7 separate regions of the Homo sapiens genome follow, and all the other regions are linked to region 1. Evidence: promoter capture Hi-C in 16 types of primary human blood cells and fetal thymus (Javierre and others, 2016). All regions are on one chromosome and are shown on one strand. The core of a region is centred on a gene start or on the middle of the fragment in contact, and the rest is flanking DNA. Distances in the headings are between cores, read along the strand shown.

The links. The method cuts DNA at HindIII sites, captures the fragments that hold promoters and counts their contacts. A CHiCAGO score of 5 or more calls a contact.
Region 2: a contact is called between a fragment that was not itself captured here and the fragment with the promoter of TRIB2 in region 1, in 2 of 17 cell types (M0 macrophages and M1 macrophages). The highest score is 5.6, in M0 macrophages.
Region 3: a fragment that was not itself captured here is called in contact with the fragment with the promoter of TRIB2 in region 1 in 1 of 17 cell types (neutrophils); the score reaches 5.1 in neutrophils.
Region 4: a fragment that was not itself captured here is called in contact with the fragment with the promoter of TRIB2 in region 1 in 1 of 17 cell types (neutrophils); the score reaches 5.9 in neutrophils.
Region 5: a contact is called between a fragment that was not itself captured here and the fragment with the promoter of TRIB2 in region 1, in 1 of 17 cell types (neutrophils). The highest score is 5.2, in neutrophils.
Region 6: a contact is called between a fragment that was not itself captured here and the fragment with the promoter of TRIB2 in region 1, in 1 of 17 cell types (neutrophils). The highest score is 5.1, in neutrophils.
Region 7: a contact is called between a fragment that was not itself captured here and the fragment with the promoter of TRIB2 in region 1, in 1 of 17 cell types (neutrophils). The highest score is 5.8, in neutrophils.

Annotation. Positions count from the first base shown.
Region 1 is chr2:12,715,419-12,718,845 of GRCh38, forward strand. TRIB2 (tribbles pseudokinase 2) reads left to right here and starts at 1,518. Exons shown (of 3, transcript NM_021643.4): 1 at 1,518-3,159. The coding sequence starts at 2,890. LOC124905974 (a long non-coding RNA gene) reads right to left here and starts at 1,340. Exons shown (of 2, transcript XR_007086222.1): 1 at 1-1,340. RefSeq lists silencers at 1,106-1,325, 1,416-1,475 and enhancers at 1,428-2,067, 1,916-1,985, 3,347-3,427. The HindIII fragment of the contact is 5,863 bases long and covers 193-3,427 here.
Region 2 is chr2:12,208,061-12,211,487 of GRCh38, forward strand. The region is part of intron 3 of MIR3681HG (MIR3681 host gene); the gene reads left to right. Among named protein-coding and RNA genes, the nearest start is that of MIR3681, 11 kb to the left of the region's middle. The HindIII fragment of the contact is 546 bases long and covers 1,275-1,820 here.
Region 3 is chr2:12,230,766-12,234,192 of GRCh38, forward strand. All of the region lies in intron 3 of MIR3681HG (MIR3681 host gene), which reads left to right. Among named protein-coding and RNA genes, the nearest start is that of MIR3681, 33 kb to the left of the region's middle. The HindIII fragment of the contact is 6,789 bases long and covers 1-3,427 here.
Region 4 is chr2:12,250,246-12,253,672 of GRCh38, forward strand. The region is part of intron 3 of MIR3681HG (MIR3681 host gene); the gene reads left to right. Among named protein-coding and RNA genes, the nearest start is that of MIR3681, 53 kb to the left of the region's middle. The HindIII fragment of the contact is 3,488 bases long and covers 169-3,427 here.
Region 5 is chr2:12,338,691-12,342,117 of GRCh38, forward strand. The region is part of intron 4 of MIR3681HG (MIR3681 host gene); the gene reads left to right. Among named protein-coding and RNA genes, the nearest start is that of MIR3681, 140 kb to the left of the region's middle. The HindIII fragment of the contact is 1,815 bases long and covers 644-2,458 here.
Region 6 is chr2:12,374,418-12,377,844 of GRCh38, forward strand. The region is part of intron 4 of MIR3681HG (MIR3681 host gene); the gene reads left to right. Among named protein-coding and RNA genes, the nearest start is that of MIR3681, 180 kb to the left of the region's middle. The HindIII fragment of the contact is 7,160 bases long and covers 1-3,427 here.
Region 7 is chr2:12,393,250-12,396,676 of GRCh38, forward strand. The region is part of intron 4 of MIR3681HG (MIR3681 host gene); the gene reads left to right. Among named protein-coding and RNA genes, the nearest start is that of MIR3681, 200 kb to the left of the region's middle. The HindIII fragment of the contact is 4,254 bases long and covers 1-3,427 here.

The sequences.
Region 1 (3,427 bases), core at 268-2,767:
TCCTGGGGTAAGACTGGATTAGGGGACCCTGCTCGGTCAGTGGTCCTGGTGATCGCCTAGGGAAATAGATCTATTCTGCTGGGATCTGGGACTGAATCCTAGGCAGGTTTGTGGGGAGTAGGATGGTGAGAGGTGCTGGAAGGCACGGGTCCACTTCTTAACCTTCCTTTTAACTCTGTGCTGCTGGGTGGAAGCTTTATAGTCAATGTCCTCTCCATCTCTGGCCACATTCCCAGGACTCCTGATCATTAGAGTGACTGTTGTCCCAAGTGGACATAATTATAAATAGCTCCCTTCTTTTACTGAAAGTGTCCTACAGTGGACAATAATTTAGTCCCCTCCTCCAGTGGAAAATATACTACACGCATGCAAAAGCTCAGAGGGCTCCAGGAGTCGTCCCAACTCCCCTTTCTCAGTTCCTTGGGATTTTTTTTTTTAAGTTTGTCCTCTACTAGATCGCTTCTCATTCACCAGGATATCTTAGATCAAGGCTGGCGTTTGAAGCCTCTGCCTGAGTTCAAGCCCCTTGCTTCCGGTGTTCCTGTCCAAGCCCGCGGACTGGAATCTCCCAAGGAAGTTACGAATAATTCGGGGGGGGTGGCGAAATGGGGGGTGGAGTGGGGCGTGAAACTGCAGCCTTCACCTGGCTAACAGAAGAGGACTCAGGACGCCCAGCACCCTGGATAGGACCCAACAGCGCTCCCTGGAGGTGTGGGTGCAAAGTTTTGTCTAGCTTGGCCTCCAAGGCCCTCCAGGCAATGCACTGGGAAGGGAAGAATTAGTGATTAAATTTGACCTGAATCAAAAGATGCCTTCAGTTCCTCTTCTGCTGAAAACACTAGAAATACAAGCCCAGGATGTGGGGATCGGGGGCAAGCGGTGACACCAACTAAAAGGAAGCAATGGATTTCCTTTTAAATGGAGAGGAGGATGTCGGAGAGATACCATGAAACGAATTCTCGAAACTCCAGGCAGCAATACCGATGAAAGCGCATTCTTCCAAAACAGAGCTCCTCATTCAGGGCCACATCTGAGCCTGGGGGCCCAATGCTCAGAGCGTGCCTGGCTTTCTGGGGAAAAGCGCCAGGAACATGAACGAGCTACGAAGAGCTGGAGCGGGCGCTGCGGGAGCAGCGTGTGGGGAACGGCTCGGGAGTCGCTGCTGGTAACCCCGGCCCAGCCGCCCGCAGCTGGGCTCGCAGCCGGCTCGCAGCCGACACCCAGGGTGCTGCGCCCGGGGCCCCGGGCCGCGGAAGGATATTTCACTTTGTTTACCTCCCCGGCCGGGCGAGGGAGCTGCGAGGCCGGTGCTGGCGCCCCCGGCACGGAGCTGCAATGGCAGCGGCGCGGGGAGCCGCCCGAGGACTGGCAGCGGCGGGGCTGATTGATGGGCGCCCGGCGCAATGAGGGGGGCCCGGGCGGGGGCGGGGCGGGGCCGGCTCTGGGCTGAGCCAGTCGCGGGGGCGGCGGGGGGGGGGCGGAGGCTCCGTGGAAATGTGTCGGTGACATTGAATGGGGAGACCGAGCGCGAGCGAGGCGCGCGCGCGCACACGCGCACTCACGGCCCCGCTCGCTCCGAGATCCCCGGCCACGTAAGTAACTATTAATACCGCCTCGCCGGGGGATGCGGGCGTGCTGAGCGCGGGGATTGGCCTCGGGCACCGTCGGCCGTCCCCTTTAATTTTTAAATACACGGTCCCCTCTTTTCTCTGGGGGGGGCAAGCAAGAAATCAAAGAAGGAGGAGACAAGCCGTCAATTTTCTCCAAAACAAACCCCACCGGGCAATTTGGTCTCGGGGTAGGGGGAGACGGGGTGATTGCAAATTATTCCAGGACGAGATCCAGTTCTCCAGCGGGAAAGGGGCAAAGGAACGCCGCGCGTTGGAAGGGCCAGGGACGCAGCTCCCCTTGCAGCGCCCGCAGGACCCCCGCAAGCTCGTGCCGGCGAAATCGGAGACCGCCGATCTGTCCTCGTTCTCTCCTGCACGTCTGGCTGCATTCGGAGGAAGACCTGGGGCGCGAGCGAGCGGCGACAGCATGAGCCTGTGCTGACCTCCGCGCGGCGGGCCGAGCCCAGGGCTTTGTCGCGGTACCTGCGCCCAGCCCGCGCCGCAACTCTGTGCCCAGCTTTTGCAATCTTTTGTTGGCAGCGCTGACCGCACCAAGTTAAATGCTCCCTTGCAATTTTTCTTTTTTTTGTTTGTTTGTTTAATTTTTGGAGAGCTCGCGATCTTGGAAAAGCCTCAGACGCCATCTACAGTTAAAACGTAGGTAACTGCCCTCTCCCGCACCCCCCCCTTACACGCCCCCCACCCTTTCCACCAAAAAAAGGGGGTGCAGCGCGGATTCTGGCTGCCGTGCGTCGCCAGCCGGTAGACCCGTGCTTGTTTCCTTTCTCTTTTTGTTTGGCTTCTAACGCGTTGGGACTGAGTCGCCGCCGTGAGCTCCCCGAAGACTGCACAAACTACCGCGGGCTCCTCCGCCCCGTCTGCGATTCGGAAGCCGGCCTGGGGGTCGCGTCGGGAGCCCTGGCGCTGCAGCTCCGCACCTTAGCAGCCCGGGTACTCATCCAGATCCACGCCGGGGACACACACACAGAGTAACTAAAAGTGCGGCGATTCTGCACATCGCCGACTGCTTTGGGGTAACAAAAAGACCCGAGTTGCCTGCCGACCGAGGACCCCCGGGAGCCGGGCTCGGAGCAGACGAGGTATCCGGCGGCGCCCATTTGGGGGCTTCTAACTCTTTCTCCACGCAGCCCCTCTTCTGTCCCCTCCCCTCTCGCTCCCTTTTAAAATCAGTGGCACCGAGGCGCCTGCAGCCGCACTCGCCAGCGACTCATCTCTCCAGCGGGTTTTTTTTTGTTTGTCGTGTGCGATCCTCACACTCATGAACATACACAGGTCTACCCCCATCACAATAGCGAGATATGGGAGATCGCGGAACAAAACCCAGGATTTCGAAGAGTTGTCGTCTATAAGGTCCGCGGAGCCCAGCCAGAGTTTCAGCCCGAACCTCGGCTCCCCGAGCCCGCCCGAGACTCCGAACTTGTCGCATTGCGTTTCTTGTATCGGGAAATACTTATTGTTGGAACCTCTGGAGGGAGACCACGTTTTTCGTGCCGTGCATCTGCACAGCGGAGAGGAGCTGGTGTGCAAGGTAAAGGGCCAGTGGGTTGCTTTTTGTCTTTGGAAGGGGCCCGAGGGAGCGGGAGGGCGCCAGGCCCTCGAGTCTGGGAGAGGGAGATTCGCGGGATAATTACCGTGGCCTTATTAAATGGGTTTATTTATTTATTTGCTCAGGTTCGGTAAGTTGCGAAGTTTTTAGACCGTTTCAGACAATGGGGCGGGCGGCAGTGGGGGCGTTTCGGGGAGAGCCCGGGGAGGAGAGGGCGGCGGGACTGCGCGGGGGCCACGGACACGCGTGC
Region 2 (3,427 bases), core at 298-2,797, 510 kb before region 1:
CATTGATATTTACACTATTAAGTGGATGAATTAACTGAGTTTTCTGGTGTGGCATAGATTTAGTTTCAGTGTGGGTGGCACATTATTGTCAAAGCAGATTTCCATTCAATGTAACAATAAAAATACCCTGAGAGTTAAGCAAGATTGGATAATTGATAATATTAAGTAAATATTTTTAGGTGTGATGACAGTATTGTAGTTATGTTTTTAAAATATCTTGTCTCTTAATTATACATATTTAATTATTATAGGTGATATGACACTGGTGATATGGCTTGGTATTTACTTTCAAATAATCGAAGAAAAAATGGAAGTGGTGGAGTTAGTCCATTAATTAATCCATTCTCTCTACTTGCATATGTATTTAAATTTTTCCACTTTCAAAAAAGTAAAAACATCCAGAACAATATATTCAGATGCACCACTAGTGATCAGATTGTCAATTGGATCTATGTCTTAGCTTAGCTGCTGATTTCTATTATGAATCCTAATGATTCAGCAAGAATATGAGGTCATCATATTTAGCATCCTTACTTTATGGGGGTAAGAACTTGAGCTCAGAGACGTTAAGTATTTGTTCAAGGTTATGTTGGTTAGTCTCCCAGGTTTGTGACCATGAGTTGAGGTCTGGAGTTGAGTAGGAAGAGAATGTACTGAACCTAGCCTAGAAAACCTAGTTGAGTACCTGAGGCAAAGTAGAGCCAGCACATTTCTAGAGAGGAAAGGAGACAGTGAAAATGTTGCCATAGGAAGATGATCTAATATGCAGACCAGACATCAGCTGGGGAATCTGCCTCAGGCTTTATAGTTCTTCAGATCCAAGTCCCATTGACCTCTGATTCCAGAAGTAGCTGTGAATGTGGAAAGGAAGAACCTAGGAGACGGAGCAAGAACCCCCTCTTAGGAGCCTGTGCACCCCTCTCCCCCTGCCCCAAGCATAAAAATTAAGGAAATTCTTAAGTTCCTTCAAGGGTAATTTCAGAAACCTAGCTAGTCTTGAGAAGCAAATAAGTAACTTGTGGTGTTATGATATATGTTGGTTTTCGTCCACGGTTCCTGGCTCATAACTCCCATTGCTGTTGTTACAGTCTTTTATTATAATGGTGGGTGTTAGGCCTTAGGAAACAGAATCTCTCTGGCTTTCTCCTGCATTCCTTTCACCTGTACCAAGGCAGGACTCTAATCATCCTCTACCTTTCTAATTGTGGGTATTAAGACCCTCTGCAGAGAAGGTCCTGCCCTATATTCTGGAGGAAGGAATGCCGATGTGACAAAGCTTCCATAAAAACCCAAGAGCATTGGGTTCAGAGAGCTTCAGGACAGCTGAACACCTGGAAGTCCCTGGAGGGCAGCACCCGGGGAGGGCATGGAAGCTCCATACCCTGTTTCCTATACCTCGCCCTACGCATTTCTTCATCTGTCTCCTTTGTAATATGCTTTATAGTGTGTTGCCCTGAGTTCTGTGAGGCACTCTAGCAAATCAATTGAATCCAAAGAGGGGGTCCTGGGAACCTTAACTTGAAGCCAGTTGATCAGAAGCAAGTTCTGGAGGCCGGCACTTGCAACTGGTTTGTGTGTCAGGGGTTAGTCTTGGGGACTGAGAGCCCAACCTGTGGGATCTGACACTATCTCCAGGTAGAGTATGGGAACTGAATTGGAGGACACCCAGTTGGTGTCTGCAGCTTGGTGAGTGGGGAAAACTCCCACACATTTGGTCACAGAAGTCTTCTGTGTTGATGATGGTTGTTCTGGTGGTATGAGATGGAGGAAAAAGTTAGAGTTTTCCCTACAAATATCTTGATAAGCAAGAAGGTAATAGAAGCTTAAAACAATAAGCAAGGAAGTTATAGTCAGAGATATTTGATTCCCCTGTGGAAACTAAAGATAACCTCTAAATGTCACAGTAAGTAGCTGGTCGGACATGAGAGGTTGGGAGAGAGCTCCCCCGACTCCCACCAGGAACGTCCAGCAAACATTAGGTGATGGTCAGGAAGTTGTTAAGCTCTCCCTCTAAAATAATAATTGGTTGCAGCCAGCACCAAGGAAAGGCAGTCTCTCAACAGACAGAAAAACCTGAAGCTGGTGATCAGCTTTCTGATAAGATCTCAGGAGGTGGGTAAGTGGGCTTGAGCATGAGCACTAAGAGGCAAAATGGCAGCATTTAACTGATATATGACCTTCTAGGGACATTGTAAGGGAAGACCGCCTTCTAGGGACATTGGTAAGGGGAGAATGCCTCAAATGAGCATGTGTACAGCTCCAGTAAACACTGCACATGCGGCCCCTCCCAAGTGCTGGCAGGCCACTGTACATGCGGGCAGCCCGCTTCAAGGGAAGAATCAGGGGAGAAGGGACGCAAGTCCCCAGCAAGCCAACATATAAAACCCTATGCAAGTCAAAGGTCAAACCCTGCACTTGATCTCTCAAGTCACCCGCCTGGGCCTCTTCCAAGTACACTTTCCTTCTTTCTGTTCCAGCTCTAAGGCTTTTTAATAAACTTTCACTCCTGCTCTAAATCTTGCCTTAGTCTCCCTCTGCCTTATGTTCCTCGGTTAAATGCTTTCTTCTTAGGAGGCAAGAACTGAGGTTGCTGCAGACCCGTAGGATTCGCCGCCACTAACATTCTTTGGTGCCACGTGACTGGGATACGCTCCACTGCTAACATTAGCGAATGTCCCTGAGTTTTTTTTCAGAAACTGGGACCCACCCCGCCCCCCGGCAAACAAATCTGCTGCCTCATAGACCTCAGATAAGGGGGAACTGGAGACTGAACTCTAACATTCTTTGTTCTAAATTAACATCCTTAGGAACCTGGAGGAGGTCAGGCCCACAAGCCCAGCTAGCATTCTTTTCTACCGATTCCAAATTTTTTTTTTTTTTTTTTGAGATAGAGTCTCACTCAGCTGCTGAGGCTGGAGTGCAGTAGCACGATCTCGGCTCACCGCAACCACCATCTCCCGGGTTCAAGAGATTCTCTCATCTCAGCCTCCTGAGTAGCTGGGATTACAGGCACCCGCCAACATGCCTGGCTAATTTTTGTATTTTAGTAGAGACAGGGTTTCACCATGTTGGCCAGGCTGGTCTTGAACTCCTGATCTCAGGTGATCCGCCCTCCTCAGCCTCCCAAAGTGCTGGGATTACAGGTGTGAGCCACTGCGTCCAGCCGATTTCAAATCTTTGGACAAAATTTTACCTCCTTAGCCAACTGCAAGTCAGAAAATATTTGAATTTTCCTATTATCTGTGGGCCCGCACTTTAAGATGCCCCATCTTTTTAGGCCAAAACCAATGTGTAAACATCATATATTGATTCATAATTTTGCCAGTAATTTCTGCTTTCCTGAAATTTACCTCTGCTCTTAAACACCCTCACCTACAAGCCATCAAGGAGGTCAGGACTTAAGCATGAGCCACCTGGTCTTCCTTGC
Region 3 (3,427 bases), core at 497-2,996, 480 kb before region 1:
TGATGAGCCAAAAAATAAAAAAAAAAAAAAGAATCGCAAAAAAAATCTCATAATGTTTTAAGAAAGTTAACGGGTTTGTGTTGGGCCACGTTCAAAGCTGTCCCGGACGCATGTGGCCCACAGGCCATGGGTTGGACAGCTTGTTCTATACTTTCTTCAAAATAAAGCCATCTGAGAGACAGGAGAACTTTGTCTTAATTGAGTGGTACCTCCATGCCACATCCTAGATTTGCATTTCTACTGAAATCACTGTGAAATATACAAAGACAATCCTGCAAGAAAAAGAAACTCACAGACTCCCCCTGAAACCTGCATATAGGTTGGCTTCATAAAAAGCCATTTGGCTGTGTAATGACAGCCCTTTTGTTCCAATGGAGCTTTCCTTCATCTGGCAGTAGATTCAGGATCTTATGTGGGGCACATCAGTCAGAAAGCATCTTCAAGGGTGTCAGAATATTTGTTCAGAAATGAAACTGTCTAGTCTTGTAACAAATGTGGAAAAAAAAAGTTCATTGATTGTGATCCCTGAATAATCCTACGCTCAAGTAATTTCCTGGAGCCTTTCAAAAATATTATCTGTTTGGCATAATAGAGATAAAAATGATGGGCATTGTAGCAATTCTCCTAGAAGCAACAAGAGAATGAGAAACTTGAAACTCTCCCCACTCCTGCTTACCCCACTTAGTAGACTAGTTATAAGTTTCAAAATACAAAGAGATATTTTTAGAATTAGATCTGTACACACATTGTACCCAAGATGGGTTTTGAGTGAACTCCAACACAGAAAAGTCATCTTACAATCTGGAACCATATCACGTGGGGAGATGTGTTAAATAATACTTTTCTTTCCAAAATGATTGTATCTTGTATAATGAGTTTCTTACCTCAAATTCATTTTTTTGTTGTTGTTTAAAAAATCATCTTCAGCTACCACTACCAAGTTTTAACTGTGGTTAGGCAAAGATCACATTTCCATTGTAGATTCCAAATTACTTTGCATTTTGCTCTAATGGACTCTTCAATTAGTACCCTTTTTATTCTGCCCCAGCATTCATACCACTACAATATTTATCGAAGTTTAATTATGTGCAAAGGCCTAACCTAGCACAGATGGCCCGATGAGGTCACTTTGTGCTTTGCTGTTCTTTATCCTCACAGTGACTCTGTAAATGGGCCCATGAAGCCTCTTAGGGTTATGTAATTTTTTTTTTTTTTTTTTTTTTTAAGATGGAGTCTCACTCTGTTGCCCAGGGTGGAGTGCAATGGTACGATCTCGGCTCACTGCAACTTCTGTGTCCTGGGTTCAAACAATTCTCCTGTCTCAGCCTCCCAAGTAGCTGGGACTACAGGCAGGAGCCACCATGACCGGCTAATTTTTGTATTGTTAGTAGAGATGGGATTTCACCAGGTTGTCCAGGCTGGTCTCAAACTCCTGACCTCAAACTCCTGATCTGCCCACCTCAGCCTCCCAAAATGCTGGGATTACAGGTGTGAGCCACCATGCCAGGCCCAGGTTATGTAAATATTTAATTGAGATAATCCACATAATGCATAAATCTTAGAACATAGCAACAAATCAATAAAGAGTAGCAATGGTGTCGTCACCTCTGCCACATTCATCAGCAATCAAGGTGTGTGCCCCATCAGTCAGTGGCCAAGACAGGGCTCCACATGTCCCGCATCTGCTCATACCCAAGAGCGAACTTTCCTCGACTTCCTGCTTCATCCTCCATGGTCTTTGTTGAAACAAAACTTGAACCAACAGTTCAACAATAAACCAGAGTATTTTACTTTGTTTTCTTCTTTCCCTAGATAACTTTTTATTATCTTCAGAGACTAGGGCTCTGTCGTCAATAAATATTTTTCAGACAAGGGGAAGAAGAACACTAGGTGAAACACAAAACCTTAGGAGAAAGGTTACCACATTTATTTTGATGCCAATCCCACTGAAAGTTAAAGTCAAAGCATCTGTTAACCAGATCTGATGACACCTTTGGCATCTGCAATCAAACACCGAGAAGAACTGTGGTGACGTGAGTTTTAAGTTCAGAAGGGGAATCTACATAGAAAGAAGAAACAACGGGAAGAAGTATTCCAACTCTAAGCCCCCACTAGGTACTGCTTTTAGAATTGTGCATTTTCAAAATATTTAGAGTTTAGTGTAGATATTTAATTATTCCTTTTCTTTTAATCCATAGAATTTCGAGGTAGAAATTTTAGTGTCTGGAAGGCAGCCTGTGGCCGGGTCCTAGTCCAACTTAAGCACTTATTTGTTTTATTTGTAGTATGTCACTTCTCACATCTGTGAATCTGTTTCTAAATCTGAGGATTGCAGATGATGAAATACACTGTTATTTCTGGAAGACTGATTAATGAATCTTTTGTGAAAGCAATTTAAAAATGCAATACAAATGTATGCCATTTTTCAGAGATTGTTTTCCTATAGCATACCATAAAATAATTCACTATTGTTGTTTGTAAGGTGAGATTTAAAGACAAGGGCACGTTCATTCCGTTTGTCACCTTTGCCTTTGGTACACAAGAGGATACCATTAGTGGAACGACCAGATTGGGTGATTATAACTTCAGATGTGAGTTATTCAACTTTTAAATGAGTGCTCTGCAGGCCAGCCTGACTCCTCAGTCCTCTCCACATTACAGAAGTCAGTGGCCCAGAAGACTTGGCTGATTCCACTGTCGCACAAGATGATGATATAAACTCCTTATTGTTCCTGTGAGTGAGATCCATTGATATCTTGGGTATCTTTGGAGATGATGCCTTTGAATTCTTGTGGAGCATCCCCAAGTTTATATTCATTCAGATGCTTTTTAAAATTAGAGGAAAAATTCTATATTTTAAAAAGGAACAAGAATATGTATAAGTTTTATGAAAAACTACAAAACATCAAACAACAAAGGGTAGGGACAATATCTGCCACACAGATGACGGAAAAAAATGTTGTTTTTCTGTTACACAGAGCTCCTGGAGATTGATGAAAAAGAGACAAATAGGAAGATGGACAAAGTACTTCACAATTTATAGGAGAGAAAATGAGAATGACCAGCATACATATAACATTTCATTCATTCTCCCTACTAGTCAGATAAATATAAATTAAAGAAAAAATGTGCTATTTTTAACCCTCAGACTGACAAAAATATAAAAAGGATGAATAGGGCTGGGCACTTTTATACTGGTGAGAATGGAAATTGCCGTATCTCCTTTAAAAAAAGACTATGTACTAAAATTAAAAATACAAAAATACTTTGACACAGAAATCTCCATTTTGGGAGTTTAATAGCAGCTAAAAAGGGGAGTGAGAATGAAAATGAATGGAGAGTGGATTATTATCTTGGAACATTTTTGCATTCTGTTGCTTGATAGAATAAACAAGTAATACCCATGTGATTTAAATCCATATGTATA
Region 4 (3,427 bases), core at 663-3,162, 460 kb before region 1:
TTTTTAAATTTTTTTTTAGTAGAGATGGGGTTTCACCATGTTGGCCAGGATGGTCTCGATCTCCTGACCTTTTGATACACCCATCTTGGCCTCCCAAAATGCTAGGATTACAGGCATGAGCCACTGCACCTGGCCTCCCTGTAATTCTTAAAACATTCTTTTTAGGCAAGCTTTCAAGATAATGTATTGCATGAGACATACTTACACTAAAATTTCTGTTGTTGTTTATCTAAACTTCAAATTCAATTTAGTGCTTTTATTTTTATTTTCTAAATTTGGTAAATTTGTAGCTTTTAGAATATTAATCATTCTGCTAGTCTCTTGTTTGTTTTTTTTCTCATATAAAACTCAGACATACATGGTCAAGTCCAATTTTATTATTTATAAGCTATGTGATCTTTGACAAGTTACATTATTTCTCTGAACCTTAATTTTCTCATCTATAAGACTGGCAAAATGTCTCTAATGACAAAGACATCATCTGCTCACTAAAGTGTATGCATACCCTTCTTCCTGGGTACGCCACTTGATACGGTTTGGCTCTGTGTCTCCACCCTAATCTCATCTCATAACTCCCATAATTCCCACACATTGTGAGAAGGACGCAGTGGGAGATGATTGAATTATGGGGGTGGGTCTTTCCTGTGCTGTTCTCGTGACAGTGAATGGGCTCACGAGATCTGACAGTTCTAAAAACAGGAGTTGCCCTGCTCATGCTCTCTCTTTGCCTGCTGCCATCCACAAAAGATGGGACTTGCTCTTCCTTGCCTTCCGCCATGATTGTGAGGCCTCCCCAGCCATGTGGAACTGTAAGTCCAATTAAACCTCTTTCTTTTGTAAATTGCCCAGACTCAGTTATGTCTTTATCAGTAGCATGAAAATGAACTGATACACCACTAGACTCAATATACCAGCCCCTTTTGCAATTAGGAGCAGGCTTGTGGTTGACTTTTACAGTAGAGTGGGAGCAGTAGTGATTTACGCCATTCAGGGCAAGGCTTTCAAGAAGAGATTGTTTCTTCTCCATACTCCATGTTCTTCTTTTGACCAGCTGATTGCCGGGAGTGCTGAGTCCTCAGGGATTAGTGGGGTCTTAGTATGAAAGAAACCCAGGTCTCTGAGTCACCATATAAAAAAACAAAACAAAACAAAACAAACCACTTAAATATCTTTCATGTGAAAAAGAAATAAATTTTTGTTATATTATGGCACCTAACTTTGGGAGTTCATTTGTCACAGCTGCTACTAATACCATAACTAATACAAAAATTGCTACTAGAAATAAAAATGCTGACTTAATAAATACCTAAAATAGGTGGTATTGACTTAGCAGTTAGGCAGAACCAATAATAAAAGATATTGTAGCCTAGAACAGTAATCTATTGATGTGATCAAACTATTGCCTAGAAACAGATGACATTCCTACTGAGCCCAAATCTCCAGGGAAAACGGTAAGAACTATTGTGTTAGTGAGTTTTGGCCTTTACTTTGCAGTAAAGTATTACAAGAAAGAGATAAGCTCAAGAAAGGACTGACTGGTTTGAAAGAAAAAGCATAAGAAAATAGGAAGAGTTCAGAAATTTGAGATTTTGCCAAGTTAGAAAGCAGATGGCATCTAGATCCTAAATGGGAAGAGATAATTCTAGAAAAGGATGTCAACAATAAAAGGACCTATTATGTCTATTTGGCTAAACAAAGAGAATCAGCCCTATGACAAAGATCTGATTAAGGGTAAAACCTTTCCACTCAAGCCTAATGTTTCAGATGGCTGCATGATATCAAACATTATGTCAACAGATACAGGCATGGGGCTTAGAAAGCAGAGAGATAAAGCAAACTTTGTTATTATGTATGGAAATGAACTTTAAGTCTTGTACATAGGACTGACCAGTAGAAAATAGATCAGAAACTTTTAAAGGAACTGTATTAATTTGATAGAGCTGCTGTAACAAACTACTACAAACTGGGATGCTTAAGCAACAGAAATTTATTGTCTCATATTCCTGGAGACTAATAGTGCAAAGTCAAGGTGTCAGCAGAGTTGGCTCCTTCTGAGGGCTGTGAAGACGCATCTGAGGCAGGCCTCCCCTCTTTGTCTGCAGATGGCCATCTTGATCTTCACAAGGTATTTTCCCTGGATACAAGTTTGTCTCCAATTTACCCCTTTGTAAATTTAATTAATTAATTAATTTATTTTAGAGTCAAGGTTCTCTGTTGCCTGGGCTGGAGTAGTACAGTTACCACTTGTACTACCACTGATCATGGCTTACTGCAGCCTCAAACTTCTGGGCTGAAGTGACTTTCCCACCTCAGCCTTCAGAGTAGCTGGGACTACAGGCATGCACCACCATGCATAGCTCCCAAATTTCCTGTTTTTATAAGGACACCAGTCATATTGGATTGCAGCTCACCCTAATGACCTCAGTTTAGCTTTTTAAAGACCCTGTCTCCAAATAAGGTCGTATTCCAAGGTACCGGTGGTTAGAACTTCTACATAATCAATTTTGAGTGACACAATTCAACCCATAACAAGAACTTTTTGAGGAAATTATATTGCTAAAGAAACAATTTTCCTGGATTTTTAAAAAAATGCCAGTTATTATAAAACAACTCTTAAATCCTAACGTTCACAAAATCAGAATTGTACTGCAAAAGCTCCTCCGCCTCCAACACCCATGTGACCATGGAAGATAATGAACGAGGATCCACATCCCACAAGCCAGAACCAGGTCATGGATGAAACAGACAAAGCAGTTCCTCCCAGAAGGCATATCCAGGGTCTAATCCCAAATAACTTCCTCCATGTCCAGATCAAGAATCACTTCTCCAGCAGGAGTGCATCATGAAGAAGGACAAGTGAATGCCTTGTGTTTCCTGTTCTTCCCGTTCTCGGTGGGAATTTCATCGTTCTTCTACTGGATCTGCTACACTCTTTTCTATTATATGTATGTTTGGGGAAGAGATGCCCAAACTCATGATCTGGAGTTCATAGATCTCCAGATCGTGAGCTACTTCTCTCTCTCTCTATGTGTGTATATATATACATATATATGTATGTATATATACACACATACATATATGTACATATAAATATATATTAATATAAATATATATTAATTATAATACTATTTAATAATATAATAATATTAATTAATTATAATTATATATATATACTTTTGGGAGTCAGGGTCTTGCTCTGTTGTCCAGGCTGGTATTGAACTCCTAGGCTCAAGTGATCCACCAACCTAAGCCTCCCGAAGTACTAGGATTACAGGTATGAGCCACCACACCCAGCCCTTGAGTCACCTCTAGACTCAAAGGAGAGGTTACTCTATACCCTAGAGATCATGGACTTCCAAGCTGCTGAGTAACTCAATGGTGAGAGTATCTCTGGGTAGGAGGAAGGATGATCTGCTTATCAGAAAAA
Region 5 (3,427 bases), core at 301-2,800, 380 kb before region 1:
TTAACTCTATTTTAAAATGACAAGTAGGAAAGCAGGGCTTTGAGAAGTAAAGTAACTTGCTCATGATCTCACAGCTATAGATGCGGTGGAAGCAGGATCTGAACCCAGAACTACTAACTCTATATGCCACATTCCATCTGTTAAACTGTATTGCCTTTGCTGTCCAACTGTTTCACTTTTAGATGAGAGTAAAAGGAGCAGAGGGAGAAATTGATTTGCTGAGATACACAGCAGATCTTTCAACCAAGGCTCTGGCCTCCCATTTCCCTTTCTTTCGGGGTACCCCCATATTCTCTTGGGTACATTTCCTGAGCTGCTCTTCCAGATCCTCCTCATTTGGCCTGGGATGCAGGAAGCTTGCTGGAGATCCTGGACAGCTGTAGACAGCCAGCTTTGCCTTCTCTGAGCAATGACAGCCCTGGGCTCCACTGCCACATATTGGCTTGGACAGAGACAGGTGTGAGAGATGGGGTGCCTCCTGGAAGTATCAGACTCCACATCAGACATTCACCCTGGAAGAACTCTGGTGGGATTTAGAATCCCAGGGTTTATTGTAATCATTTGAATGAAGTCTTTGTCTTCCTTTCCCATCCACTACTCAAATCTTGTGGTGATCACTAACCAGAGGATTCAGAGAAATCAAAGCTTTGAAGGAAGTTCGCCTTTCAATGTGTTCACTCCACATTGAACACGTCCACAGCTCCTGACTTCTCGAATTAATAACAAAGAGATTTTTTTTTTTTAACAGCACGTCAGAACAAATGAAGGCAAGGAGCCAGTTCTCAGTTCTCTGTAGATCATGAGAGTTTTTGTCCGTGACTATTGACCCTGTGTCCTTCCCTGGAAGTACTCAACTCACTTTAATTAGCTCACATTCTGTCCCCTTCATCTAACCCACATCACGGTGGTTCCAAGGGATGAGAACTGTGCACTGTGGCAGACACCTCTGTCTGTTCCTTTGAGCACCTACTACTGTGAGGCTCAATTGCCAGGGATCATAGAATCAAGGCAGGATCAGCGACATCATGTGTGGGGCCCAGAGCAAAATGAAAAAGTGAGACCCTTCTTCTAAAACTGCTAAGAATTTCAAAACCTGGGAGTAGGGCATTCAACCAAACATGGGGCCCATCTAAAGTTGGACACTCATGGAGCTGGTCCAGTGTGGGGCAGTGGAAAAATGTAGCACAGATGAAGAAGAGAGAGAAGTTAGAGCTGAGTGTTAGCATCTCAGTCTATAAAATAGGGTGCTAACCCTTACCTTGCTAATTGTATATTAAATTTTGGTAATGTATGTAGACCACTAGGAAATGTTAGATGATCATTAAGGAGGAGCTCCTTTCCCTAAGGGAGAACCTAACTTAAAGACCTCATTTTGCAGAGGAGAAACCTGAAGCCTAGAAAAGAAAAATGCCTTGTCCATGTTTAGTCAGGGAATCCATCTGTGGTGGGCCTGGGATAGGGGACCACGGTCTTCATTCCCAGCTTGGTGAACTTTTCACTGAACCAGGCTGCTTCTCATCTCTCCAGATGCCTTTGGATAATTTCTGCTTGCTAAAGAGGCGGGGCCTTAGTCCTCATCGGCCGATGGTTTGGAGACTGAATCAACTATCTGTAAGTTTGGGCTCCACTTCCTGCCCAGTTGCTGTCCCATGAGTGAATAATAATGAAATAAATGTTATCCTTCATCACAGGATGCTTGGGGTGAGGGGATAGCTTTCTCAGATGACTTCTCACATGGTTTGTGATGAAATAGTTTTTCTGCACATAGCCACTTTCCAGTCACTAGACGGCTGCTTTGGGCACTAACAAATAGTGAACCTGGTGGTAGTTTGATTTAAAGGTGATGACACAGACAAAGACAGGGTCCACTGGGTCTACTGGCTGTGGATAATGTCAGTGCTTAACAAGAATAATAATACTACAAAAATATTCTATAGATAGACACTTCGGGGAATTAGAAACTACTGTTATAATAAATATCATCGCTCTGATAACAGAGGAAGGGCAAGGCTAGTGTGATTTTATTATAACTTTTCAGAAGAGAACACTGGCTCACAATGACCTGACTATCTGCCCAAATTAACAGTTATATATATGGTGGTGATGGGGGCTTCTGAGAAGGACATTACATTTGATTACGCCTTTATTTCCTGTGCCTAAGAGACAATTGTGAACTAAATCAATGATACTTTCGATCTCTAAATTTCACTCGGTGAGAACACAACAGAATGTATTGAAAAGGAGATGCAATTTCAGAGTCCTGTATTCCTTCCTGTCTTTTCCAACACTCATTCCTGGAAACTGAAGGCTGGTGAATCACTCTGCATCAAGACCTGGCCTTGTTCTTAAGTGGGGGCCCTGATCAATTGAACAGCCTTTTACAGGGATATGAGGGCTGGTCTTATATTCTGTGGTGACTGTGTTCCTAATTGTGGTTCCAGTCTCAAAGTCATATAGAAGCTTGGTTTTCTGTGGACAATTTCATTCATAGCTTATGAGTACAGCTGCCATTTTTTTACTTGGTGATGACCCTCAACTCTATTCTGCCCAAATTCTGTCCAAGCTTCAGGCCTATCTGCTAGACTCAATTTTTGGGTGAATCCCAAGCATTTTAAACTTAGAATGTCTTTAACTGAACTAATCCCCCTGCCCCCCTTACTTTCTCTGTGGTTTCCTTTATCCCAGTTGGCAGCAATGTCTTCACCTGTATCAGCCTCCTTCCTCTCCTTTCTCAAATATAATAAACTAGGTTATAAAAGTCTGTCTGTTCTATTTGTCTCTAAGCCTCCAGCCTTTCTACTTCCAACTTATTCCTACCATGCTCCCGGAGGGACCCTTGATTATGTCCCTCCCCACTGAATATTTTGCTGTTATTTATTGTTACATCAAACAGTCTTTTCATTGATAACAACCTAAGAGGTAGTTACTAATACCGTTTTGTAAATGAGGAAACTGAGGAATAGAGAGTCATACAAAGTCATACAGCTTCTAGGTAAGAAAGCAAATGTCTGAACCCAAGAAGTCTATTTCCAGAGACTCTGCTTCTGGCTACTAGGCCATCGTTATAGGCGGAATTATGTCCTCCTCTCCCTACCCAAATTTATACATTGAATTCCTGATCCTTAGAACCTCAGAATGTGATCATATTTGGAGATAACATCTATAAAGAAGTAATTAAGTTAAAATAAGATCTTTACAGTGGGCTCTAATCCACTATAACTGGTGTCCTTATATGAAGATGAAATTTAAAAGAAGGAGAGCATACAGACAAGTGCCTATGCAGGAAATTCCACATGAGGGTGTGGCAAGAAGGCGGCCATCTGTGAGCCAAGGAAAGAGGCCTCAGAGGAAAGCAAACCTGCTGACACCTTGACCTTGGACCTTTGCCTCCAGAACTTCAAGATGATATATTTCTGTTGTGAAAGCC
Region 6 (3,427 bases), core at 514-3,013, 340 kb before region 1:
TGTTTATCAACTTTTTGGGGGGAGGAATTTTAAAGTGATGATACCAACAAAAAAAAAAAAAAAAAAGAAGAAGAAGAAAGTGATGATACGTCTTCCCCAAGTACTTTAACAGGTGCCCTGCAAATGACACAACATCACTAGCACATATGAAAACAATAACAAAAAGTCAATACTTCTGTCGTAATACAGTCTATACTAAAACATCTTCAACTGTCCCCAAGATACCTCCCTTTTATAACTGTTTTTTGTCCCCTTGATTCAGGATCCAACCAAATTCTGTACATTGCATTGACTGTTAAGTTTTTTGAATCATCGAAATATTTTAAGTGGTATTAAAAATGTTAGAGTCTCGGTCATTTTTTTTTTTTTTTTTACAGAATGTTCCTCATTATGGATATTTAAAAAGTATTTTCTATGTGCAGAATTGGAAATGATACTACAAAGATAATGTTATATAATTTTATTTTAACATCAGAGGCAGATATTGTCAATTCGTCCCATTATTGGTAATATTTATTGGTAATACTAGGTTTGATCACTTAAGTGGTGATAGCCTGGCACCTTCATTTTAGAAATACATTTTCCCTTTTATAATTACTAATTAATACATGAGATGAAACTTCAAGATCATGTGATTATTGTATTTCCGAGCAACTTTTTATGAGTGACTTTAGTATCTCTCAATGATACTTGCCTGAATTAATTATTATCTTAGGGGTTGCAAAATAGTGATTTTTTCCTAAGCATTATTCTACATTTATGTGATGGCTAATTTTATGTGTCAACTTTGACTTGGCCGTGGAATGCCCAGATAGCTGATTGAACATTGTATCTGGGTGCATCTGTGAAGGTGTTTCAGGAGATGAGCATTGGGACCAGTGGACCAAATGAAGCAGACCTCCTCCCAATGTGAGTGGGCATCACCCAACCCACTGAGGGCCTGAATAGAGCAAAAAGGAAAGGAAGAGGCAGGTTAAATCCACTCCATCTGACTACATGAGTTGGGACATTAACCCTCTCCTGCCCCCAGTGCTCTTGGTTCTCAGGTTTCTAGACCCAAACTGGAACTGGAATCTATAATATCAGCTTTCTGAATCTTGGGCATGTGAACTACACCATTGGCTTTCTTGGGTCTCCAGCTTCCAGAGGGCAAATCAGCCTCCATAATATCATGAGCAAATAACTTATAAAAACCTCTTCATATATCACATATATTGTGTGTCTATATATATGAAGTAGAAAATATATATTTATAAATATATATTATATATGTATGATATATAATATATGTATGATATATAATATATGTATGATTCATAATATATTATATACATATATTATATAGTATATAATATATAATATACGTACTATATAATATACATATATAAAATATAAATATTTATAAATATATAATATATATTTATAAACCTGAATATATGATATATAAATATATTATATATGATATAATACATTTATAAACATGTAATATGTAATATATTTATAAATATATAATATAGCATATGTATAATATATATTTTTATAAATATTATATATGTATATATTTCCTGCTGGTTCTGTTTCTCTAGTGAACTCTAATAGAACTTATGAGCTGACTTTCTTTCCATTTTTCTCCTCTTTATCCCTGTTTTCTACATAACAATAAGGACACATAGTTTTTTTTAATTCAACATGTTATAATCCATTTCCAAAATTAGTCTATTTGTGTCAAATTATGACAGATTTAGACAATAAGAGCTTTGTAAAGATGGCTCCTGTGTTTCACTCAAACTTCTGATTTTAGTTTCAATTTCAAGTCACTCAACTCACAGTGAAAATGTAGTTCTTTGAGCTACAGAGTGCAAAAGCAGAAGAAAGAAATCATACAAATAACACTTTTTCAGCATTTACAAATCCAAGCATTATCTCCTTAAAAAGCTAAGGGGCTAAGCAAAATTAAAAGGTGGGAAAGGGAACTATGACCCGAATCCCTAATTGTTCAGTACTGTTCTGTCTGCCTTGCCCATCATGAGTTGTCCTCTGCCTGTGAATATTCTAATGTTTCCAGGAATGTCACAAGAAAGAGAGTACAAGGTTGTTCAATGACACTGGCTGGGGGGATGTAGCAGGCTGGCAGGGAGTATAGCAGTTCTGAGCAGTCTTATGTTAGTGCAGGACCCAGGAGTTCCGGTACATCTCATTTTCTATTAGTTCAAAGTTACATCACTGAGTGACATCATTTGAGTTAAATTATTGAGAGTTACACTATTATTCTCTAATGTTCTCATGCTCACCATGTTTATATCTTCCTAGGTGAGGTGGCCATGCTTATTGGAATAGCTATTTCATTTGGGGTGATATATCCATGATTACAACCAAACAAGAGGAGGCATTCTTCATAATATTTTGAAATACACATAACACCCTGCTGTATCCCTTATTCATGGTCACCTAGGCTTTCAACACTTTTTTGCTTTTTGCCACATGATGTTGCAGATTTATTGAGCATTTCCACGTCTCAGATCTGGAATCGGCCATTTCTTAGAGAGGCCCGACTCCCTAGCATTTGGGAATTAAGATCTGAGAGCCATGTGTGTTCACTGCTTCTGTGTCATCATTGACTCTAGGCCCTTTCAGTAGAAAAGCAAGAAAATATTTGCATATTTAAACCATGAGATCATCCTGACATTTCTAATTCAAATTTTACCTGGCAGGATTTCCTTAGTTTAGTTTATTTGATATTTTTATTTTATTTTTCTTACAAGGAAAATATTGGGTTCTAATGATATCAAGGCACTTACTTATTTGCTTGTCTGTAGTAGAAGTAAACACTTTCACATTTTTAATATCAATATTAATACTAACAAGAAACTTACTAAATAAAGGTTCTGGTGGTTCTTTTTGTCCTTAAGCAATATCATACTAAAAGTGTATATTTGGAGTACTGCATTCAAAATTGTCTTGGATTATTTAGTTTCTCTGACTGGTTATGTCAAAAATTAAAATAGAGTTAGACTTTTACTAAAATAGAGTTAGGTTTTTATTTCTGTTTTTACTGAGTTTTCTATAACTCCATAACTATTTTTAGTCTAAAGATGTTTGCTTCTTTAAAAGTAGGGTATTGACTGGGCACAGTGGCTCATGCCTCTAATCCCAGCAGTTTGGGAGGCTTAAGCAGGAGCATGACTTGAGCCCAGGAGTTTGAGATCTGCCTGCGCAACATAGCGAGACTGTGTCTTTACAAATAATAATAATAAAAATATTGGCCAGGCATGGTGGCATACACTGAGGTGGGAGGATCACCTGCGTCCTGGCGGTTGAGGCTTCAGTAAGCCGTGATTGTGCCACTGCACTCCAGCCTGGGTGACAGAGCAAGACCTCATCTCAAAAAAACTAAATTAAATTAAAACAGAGGATTGTCCCTCCTAAT
Region 7 (3,427 bases), core at 651-3,150, 320 kb before region 1:
GAGCATTCTATAACTCCCAGCAATTTCCACTACTCAGAGAAGCGTCATGCAGGTGGGGGCCCTGAGAGGCAGGTGGAGGTTAGCTTCTTGGTGAACCTGCCTTTGAACATGAGCAACCTCTACATTCTGCTTCCTCAGTGACTGATGCCTGTTACAGGCAGAATGTTCGTGTCTCACCAAAATTCCTCTGTTGAAGCCTTATCCCCCAATGTGATGATATTTGGAGATGGGGCTTTCGCAGGGCAATTAGGTTTAGATTAGGTCCTGAGGATAGGGCCTTCATGATGGGATCGATGTCCTTATAAGTGGAACATTAGAGAAAGTGGCCATCTACAAGCCAGAAGATGGCTCACATTAGGAGCCAAATCTGCTGGCACCTTGATCTTGGACTTCCCAGTCTCCCAGAATTGTGAGAAATAAATATCTATTGTTTAAGCCACCGATTTTATGTTTTAAAAATAGTAACCTGAGCATTCTAAGACAACACTCACCAAGATGAGGTAAAAATGATCATAAGAAACAGGTTATACAATACAAAAGCATATTTATTTTATCAAGGTAGGAGAGAGAAGAAGAAGAACAGGAAGAGGAGAGGAAGTGGAGAAGGAGCAGAAGGGGGAAGAGGAAGAAAATGAGCAGGGAGAGAATATTCTATCTGACAAGAAAAGCATTCTCATATAGTATCTGTCGGGTGTATAACTTAGCACAAACTTAATGAAAGTCAATAAGGCAAAATGTACCAAATGTTTACAAATATATAGGCACTTATAATGCAGAACATTTAAATTAAAATTCTCAAGCAAAATCTGCATGTAAGATATGGTTATTGTCTTGGGGTCCATCTACCAACCCTGATCAAGATATACATTTTAGTTTAGTTTTGTCTTAGTCCAGGCTGCTGTAACAAAAACCATAAACTGGGTGGCTTATAAATAACAGGCATTTATTTTTCACAGTTTTAGAGGCCGAAAGTCTGAGATCAGGGTGCCAGCATGGGCAGCTTCTGGTGGGGGCTCTCTTCCTGGATTGCAGATGAACATTCACCAGGTCCTCACAAGGCTGAGAGAGACAACAGCGTCTCTCTCACTCTTCCTCTTCTTATAGGGCCACAATCCTATGGGATAAGGACCTTACCCTTGTGGCCTCGTTTAACTTTAATTAACTCCTTAAAAGCCCTATCTTCAAATACAGTCATATAGGGGGTTAGGGCTTCCATATATGAATTTTTGAGGAACACAAACATTCTGTTCATAGCAAGTTTAGTTCGATTACTTTTTAAAGTTCTTTCACTGTGTCCTGCATCTCGCTTGGCTCTGGAGATGCAAACGTGACTCAAACTGAACCGTCTTTCTCTTTCATGTGGCAGTTTGAGCATGTCCTCCTGAAATACACATGAACATATATACTTCTGCTGATGTGATCTAGCCCTCTCCCCTACTCTGACACTCATACACAAATTTAACTCCACTAACAAAGAGAACCCATATAATTATATTAGCAGAGTGTTGTAGGTAAACAGAAGGGATTATCCACATCACACAGCAAAACTGTCCAACCATCTCCCTTAAACTTTCGCTCTTACCAACCATTCTGGCCACCCTCCCTCATCCTAATATGCTTTCTCCTTCTCCTCCTGTCTCTCGCTTGCTCTTTCTTTTTTTGTAGTCCTATTCAATTTTTCCATGTACTTTCTCTTTGACTAGACTCTCATTGTCAGCTCTGCATACAACTTTTCAGCTAACATTCTGAGTTGATTTTCTACTTTTGTAGAACTCATTTGCATTTGATCTACCACCTTGATCAGCAAAACAAAGGCTTCTTGTGCATGTGTGTGCATGTACATGTGTGAGAGAGAGAGGATCAGAGAGAGAGAAAAAGAGAGAAAGAGAGACCATGTCAGGTTTCTTTTGACTAGTGTTTGTCTATCGTTTTGTTATCCTTTGACTTTTAATCTATCTGTATTTCTCTACTTAAAATGTTTCCTTTAGACAGCATATAATTAGGTCTTTGCTGTTGTTGTTTGTGTGTGTGTGTGTGTGCGCGTGCGTGAATTCAATGTAACAAGACCATTGTTATTTAATGTAATTTTTTATATCATTGTGTTAAAACCTAGCATCCTGCTAACCGTTTCTGTTTGCTTGTCTATTATCTGTTTCTTTTTTCTTCTTTTTCTGCCTACCTTTGAATTCAAATGTTTTATTATTCCATTTTATCTCCACTATTGGCTTATTAGTTATATCTCATTTTGAGTTTTTAAGTGATTGCCACATGGTTAACAATATCTACATCTCTAACTTGTCACAGCCTATGTTCAAATAATATGGTACTGTTTCATGAACAGTATAAGAATTTTACAACTGTATATTTCTGATTCATCCCTTGCATCTTTTGCACTATTGCTATTATAAGTTTTACATTTACTACTAGGTAAAAACTATAATTTTTGTTTCAGACAGTAAATTTTTTAATTATTAAAAATAAAGAAATTTTTTAATATTTACCTTATAGCACTTATTTCTCTCTATAGATCCATGTTTCTTTCTATCAACATAAACTTTTGCCAGAAGAACTTCCTTTTGTTTTTCTTGTAATACTACTGGGAATGTAAGGTTATGTGAGTCTGAAAAATACTATCTAGATTCTTATATTGTTTTCACTTTTGGAAACATTTATGCTGACTATAGAAGCCCTCCCCAGAAGCTGATGCTAGTGCCATGCTTCTTGTACAGCCTGCAGAACTGTGAGCCAAACCTCTTTTTTTATAAATCACCCAGCCTAAGATATTCCTTTATAGCAACACACAAATGGACTAAGGCAGGTGGGACTGGGGTGCCAGAGTTTTCCTCGAAGCCCCTGCTCTACCTTCAGCTCTCTGATATTCTTGCTTGCCTGTGCCATGGAGGAGGTCACCCTATGCTCCTGCTCCTGCCCCAAACATACTGGCTGCTCCTTCTTAACCAATCTAGGTTCACGGTGGGTTTGTGGGGACAACTCTGTTATTTTGTGCCCTGTCAGTTTTACACTGATCCTTATTTCTTGGATTTTGAGGCTTTCTTAACATTCCTGTCTCTCCTCTCTATGGCATTAACACTTTGTCTAGTATCTGTTGTTGCTTTTGAGCTGGAGCTTCCTCCTGTCCCTTAAAATGATTTGCCTCTTTTCCCCTAGAAAAAAGTCCTCTAGGGTTTTTTTTTTTTCTTTTATCCTTCCTACATTGAAACTGGTTTTCGCTTGTACCTTGGGAATGATGTACTTTACTGCTCCTCCCCTAAGAGCACTGGGGTCCAGGAAATGGGTAGTGTTTTGTGAGTGGTCTCTCGTAGCAGTCAAGTACATCCTGCATGTGCATAACTGAAGAGGGTCCCTTCTGGTCTTCTGCTCTGCTCCTGGTCTTTCTGGTGAACAGCTTGGGGAGGCCATGGCAAGA